Linked DNA regions of Homo sapiens: region 2 is linked to region 1. Evidence: promoter capture Hi-C in 16 types of primary human blood cells and fetal thymus (Javierre and others, 2016). All regions are on one chromosome and are shown on one strand. The core of a region is centred on a gene start or on the middle of the fragment in contact, and the rest is flanking DNA. Distances in the headings are between cores, read along the strand shown. Region 1 holds the start of FBXO11 (F-box protein 11). Region 2 has its middle 6.1 kb from the start of FOXN2.

Evidence for each region. Contacts are between HindIII fragments. The CHiCAGO score rates a contact against its expected background, and 5 or more counts as called.
Region 2: a contact is called between a fragment that was not itself captured here and the fragment with the promoter of FBXO11 in region 1, in 15 of 17 cell types (total CD4 T cells, total CD8 T cells, naive CD4 T cells and 12 more). The highest score is 18.1, in total CD4 T cells.

Annotation. Positions count from the first base shown.
Region 1 is chr2:47,905,248-47,907,947 of GRCh38, reverse strand. FBXO11 (F-box protein 11) reads left to right here and starts at 1,450. Exons shown (of 23, transcript NM_001190274.2): 1 at 1,450-2,459. The coding sequence starts at 2,228. It overlaps LOC100506235 (a long non-coding RNA gene), which reads right to left and starts at 2,398. Exons shown (of 2, transcript NR_187636.1): 1 at 2,149-2,398; 2 at 1-630. RefSeq lists an enhancer at 504-1,288 and silencers at 1,358-1,457, 1,948-2,137, 2,498-2,617, 2,628-2,677. The HindIII fragment of the contact is 3,894 bases long and covers 345-2,700 here.
Region 2 is chr2:48,307,238-48,309,937 of GRCh38, reverse strand. No RefSeq gene overlaps it. Among named protein-coding and RNA genes, the nearest start is that of FOXN2, 6.1 kb to the left of the region's middle. The HindIII fragment of the contact is 6,909 bases long and covers 1-2,700 here.

The DNA of each region.
Region 1 (2,700 bases), core at 201-2,700:
CCTAGCTAACCACCATAAAAATTTGGAGTTCTCCAGCTGTTTTGTAACAGCTGTCCTCCTCAAATATTTTTTTGAGAAACAAACATAGACCTACGTTTCTCTATTTTTCTGGACTAAAGAGAGATCATCTCAAAATCACAGAACTCTTAAAAATTGAAAACAGGATCATGTAGTCTAAAATAAGTTCTTATTTAAACTTGGGAGGTGAGGGGGGCGGGGCTGACATCTAGAAAGGTGAAGTACTTTGCCTGTAGTCACACACCAAGTCTGGGACTCAACACACAGGCTCGCCTCTTTGCGTCTCTCCCTCCTTCCAAAATACATTTTCCTCCCTCTCAAAAGCTTTATCACGCTTTGTAGTTGCTTAATTATCTATGTCAAACCTAGAGAGCAACTGATGACACTCAGAGACATCGCCCAAAGTTCTGAAAACCAGATAATCAGATAAACTGCCAGTTTTACCACATCCAAAAAATGCACAACAAAAGAGAGAAGGGGGAGAATCGAGAATACATTTTCAGCCGCAAGGCAATAAAAACACGTTTCCCTTGGAGAGAGATTATGTTGGGGGCATCAGGTATAAAGGTAATTCCTGTTGAGGGTTTTTCTTTTCCTTGCAGTTTGTGGGACCTAAAAAAAAAAAATTAAAAATTAAATCACATAAACAATCACAACATCAACACATTTACTTCTCTCCTCTCACATATTATTTTCCCACACATTGTATACACTTCTTCAAAGAACAAATCAAATTGGCCAAAGGTCAAAGCCTTTTCAAGGTTTAGATGATATACGATTAGGCACCGACTCCAAACTTCGCTTACCAAGCCCAAAGCTCGGAGACGGAAATCTTCAGGGTTTGCAAATACCCTCAGCTTGGCTAAAGGGCACGAAATCTCTAGCGCTCCCTACAGCTCAGATTTTGAACCCACCTACCACAGAAAACCCGAGTTACCAAAGATTGGCTCCCTCGTTCCACTTTTTTTTCAGCTCAAAAAAATCGGGTGAAGGTTGGGGTAGGGGGGAAGCTGAAACGGCGAACCGAAGGATTAATCACTTCTCCCCATTACATCAGCAACCCCCGCCCTTTCCTCCGAGCACCTCCTCTCCCAGAATCGTCGCTACGCACTGGCGCTCTCTTCGCCCACCCCCTGCTCTATTATTTGCCCTGATACCTCCCCATTATCACCCGCCCCGCCACACTCCCCCTTTCCTCTTTCCCCCTCCTAGGCGGGGGAGGGAGGAAACCCGAGAGAGGAAACAGGGCGTTGAAGGGACTTCGCGATAAGAGCGGAGGCCCCATTGGCCGGAAGGTTGTACGGGCGCCTTAGATTGGCCGCCTGGACGGAATCCCCGCCCCTCCTTTCCCCGCCCACCCACCCCTCCCCCCGCCGCCCCGCGGCCCTCCCCCGCGCCCCCGGCCAGCCCCGCGGCGGGGAGGGACCGACTGGGCGAGTGGAGGCTCCGGCGGTGTCAATGGCTCCTCCTGCCACGGAGCAGCAGCAGAAGCAGCGGCGACAGGGCTGACGAGGAGGAGGAGGAAAGGTTCCTTTAAGGAGGAGGAAGGACGACGCCTCTTTTTCCCCCTATCTCCTCCCTTCACACTCATTTCCCCTTCGCCGAGGAGAGAAGGGGGGGAGGAGAGAGAAGAGACCGAAGAAAGAGAGAAAAATTCCTCACAGAAATCTCTTTCAGGGGGTGTGGGGGGGAGGAAGAGGGAAAAAAAAGAGCCGGGCGCCCCCTGCTCCCTCCCTCCCTTCTCTCCCTCTCTTTTTCTCCCTTCCTCACCCGCCCGCCCACTCCCCCCGCTGCCGGAGACGCCGCTCGCGAGTCGGCGGGACCGGGATCTGTCTCTTCAGCCGCCGCCGCCGCCGCCGCCGCGCTTCGCCTCGGGATCCCCAAGCGGCGGACGCCCTTTCTTTCTTTCTCTCGGTCTGCCCGTCTTTCTGCCTTCGTCCCTCGCGGCCGCCCCGCCCGGCGGCTTCGGCCTTCCCCGTGCGTCAGGCCCTCCCGGCCGGCCTCGCTCGGTCTCCGTCTGTCTACCCGGGCCTTTCTCCGGACTCGGGGTCCCGCTCGCCCCCTCCGCCCTCAGCGTCTCCCCTTCCCCTCGCCCCCTCTCCTTCCTCCCCCCTCTCCCACTCTCCCCACCCCTTTCTCCTGCCCCGAAGCTCGCTGTGCGTGTGCGTGTGTGTGTCCCTCCGCCAACGCCGCCACCTCAGCCCGGCAAATGAACTCCGTCCGAGCCGCCAACCGGAGACCCAGGCGAGTGTCGCGGCCGCGCCCGGTGCAGCAACAGCAGCAGCAGCCCCCGCAGCAGCCGCCGCCGCAGCCGCCCCAGCAGCAGCCGCCCCAGCAGCAGCCTCCGCCGCCGCCGCAGCAGCAGCAGCAGCAGCAGCCTCCGCCGCCGCCACCGCCGCCTCCGCCGCTGCCTCAGGAGCGGAACAACGTCGGCGAGCGGGGTAAGGCCGCGCTACCTCCCAACCGCCCGCCTTCCCGGGCACCGCGGGAAGGGAGGCCGGGGCGGGCGGGCGGGCGGGCGGGCGGGGGCGGCCTGCGCGCCCTGGGGGTGGGAGACCCAAGCTGAGCGGAGGCGGGTCCCCCGGTGCCGCAGTGTCAGCCCGGGCCGGGCCCGGCCGGCAGGAAAAGCCGCGGCTTCCCTTCTCGCCTGGGCTCTCGCTCAGGCCGCGCTTTGTTTGGTTT
Region 2 (2,700 bases), core at 55-2,554, 400 kb before region 1:
ACCCTCTTAAGACACACACACACACACACACACACACACACACGAAATAATGGTATATGTCAGGAGAAGGTAAATGGAATCAAGTGTTCTAAAATCAGTGCATTTTCTAGAAGTATGGAAAAAGTGATAGTTAATATTAGACTCTGGTAAGTCAAGAATACATCTTATGAGCTTTAGAATAATCATTGAGAAAATAGTAAGAAACTGTATTAGTCAGGATTCTTCAGAGAAACAGAAGTGGAGGCTTAGTAGCCTAAAAGCTGTAAGGTAGAACAACAGGCTAGAGACAAAGAAGAGTTGCAGTTTGAGTCCAAAAGCAGTCGGCTAGCAGAATTCCTTCTTGCCCATGGGAGATAAATCTTTGTTCTATTAAGGCATTGGATAAGATCTACCCACCTTATGGAAGGTAATCTGCTTTATTAAAGTCTACAGATTTAAATGTTAATCTCATCCAAAAAACACCTTCACAGAAACATTTAGAATAGTGTTTGACCAAACATTTGGCCACCAGTGGCACTGGCAAGTTGATTCATAAAATAAGCCAGGACACTATGCAATTTCCAATCTAATTTGAGCATGTGAGGAAATAAAAAATAATCTAAATGCAAGATAGAAGAGAAATAAGAACATATGATAGAGCAAATAGAAAGTTGTTATAAGATGGTAGACATAAACCCAAATATATCACTAATTACACTAAATGAAAACAGATCATAATTTAATGACAAAGATTGTTTTTGTTGCCTATTGTTATATAACAAACTACCCCAAAATTTAGTAGCTTAGGCCCAGCACGGTGCCTCACACCTGTAATCCCAGCACTTTGGGAGGCTGAGCAGGTGAATCACTTGAGGTCAGGAGTTTGAGACCAGCCTAGCTAACATGGTGAAACCCCATCTCTAATAAAAATGCAAAAAAATTAGCCAAACGTGGTTGTACCCACCTGTAGTCCCAGCTACTCAGGAGGATGAGGCACAAGAATCACTTGAACCAGGAGGTGGAGGTTGCAGTGAGCCCAGATGGTGCCACTGTACTCCAGCCTGGGCAACATAGCAAGACCCTATCTCCAAAAAAAAAAATGTAGTAGCTTAAAATCAAAACCATTTTATTATTTTTCCAGATTCTGTGGGTCAGAAATTTCAACAGGGCATAATGGAGAAGGCTCTCTCTTCTCTGGGTGATGTCCGCTGGGGCTGAAATGTTCTAGATAGCTTCTTCACTCACATGTCTAGCACCTAGCTAGGATGGCTCCAATGGCCGGGGGTTAGAACAGCTTGACTGATATCATATGTGTGGGGCCTTGGTTCTCACAATTGATTGGGTTCTTTGGTTTTTCTACAAGTAGTTCTAGGACTTCTGTTCCACATGGCCAATCCATGTAGCCTCTACAGAAAGATAGCCGACTTCTTACATGCAAGCTCAGAGTTCCCAAGAAGATTAGGTTTAGAACTAACACACTGTCACTTCTGTTACATTCTATCAGATAAAGGAAATAACAGGCCTAGAGTCAAGAGGAGGAAACTACATAAGGGTGTAAATACTAGGAAGTAGGATGAACCTGGGGCCACCAATTGATGTAACCAACTACCACAGATTGTCACTGGGCAAAAATAACCACACGCTCTTTACAAGGGGCATAATCTAGAACATAAAAATACAGAAAGTTTGAAAGTAAAAAATAGAAAAAAAGTAAACCATGCAAAATTACCAAAAGGAAGCTGGAATAGCTAAATTAAGTAGATACTAAGACAAAAAGTACTGGGGCCGGGCACGTTGGCTCACGCCTGTAATCCCAGCACTTTGGGAGGCCGAGGCGGGCGGATCACGAGGTCAGGAGATCGAGACCATCCTGGCTAACACGGTGAAACCCCATCTCTACTAAAAAATACAAAAAAAATTAGCCAGGTGTGGTGGCAGGCACCTGTAATCCCAGCTGCTCGGGAGGCTGAGGCAGGAGAATGGCATGAACCCAGGAGTTGGAGCTTGCAGTGAGCCGAGATCACGCCACTGTACTCCAGCCTGGGCAACAGAGTGAGACTCCGTCTCAAAAAAAAAAAAAAAGACGAAAAGTACTGCTGGAGTGAAAGGGAGACTCTTCATAATAATGAAGACTTAATTTGCCAGGAAGATAAAAATATTCTAAATTTGTATTCCTCCAATAACATAACCTCAAAATATATAAAGCAAAAATTACAGAACTACGAGGAATAAAAAATCCAGAATTTTAGGAGGAGATGTTAACATATTCAGTTACTGATAAAACAGGCAGACAAAAAATTCAGTGACTATGGGTCTGAACAATGCTATTAGCAAAGTTAAGTATAAGGACATATGGAATACTTTTCTACAGTCCTTTACACATGAAGAAATTCATTAGTTTATGTTATTTCTGCTTTGGCTCATGAAGCTGGTAAGGATATCAGAGGATCCTGAGCCTTCAGGCTGCTTAGAATCTATCCCTATTTTACAGATAGACTGTGTACCTTTACCTCATTCATTAAATAAACATATTAACTACTGACTATGTTCCAGGCCCTGCACTTAGTACAGAGATGAAAATAGTAGTTAAAACTACAGACAAGCAAATCAGAAAATATAATTGCAGTATACAAGTGCAGTGATAGAGCTTTACATAAGTAGTAATGGGAATCAAGTCCTAACTCAGCCCTGGGAGATGTCTGAACAAAGATTGAAGAGAGA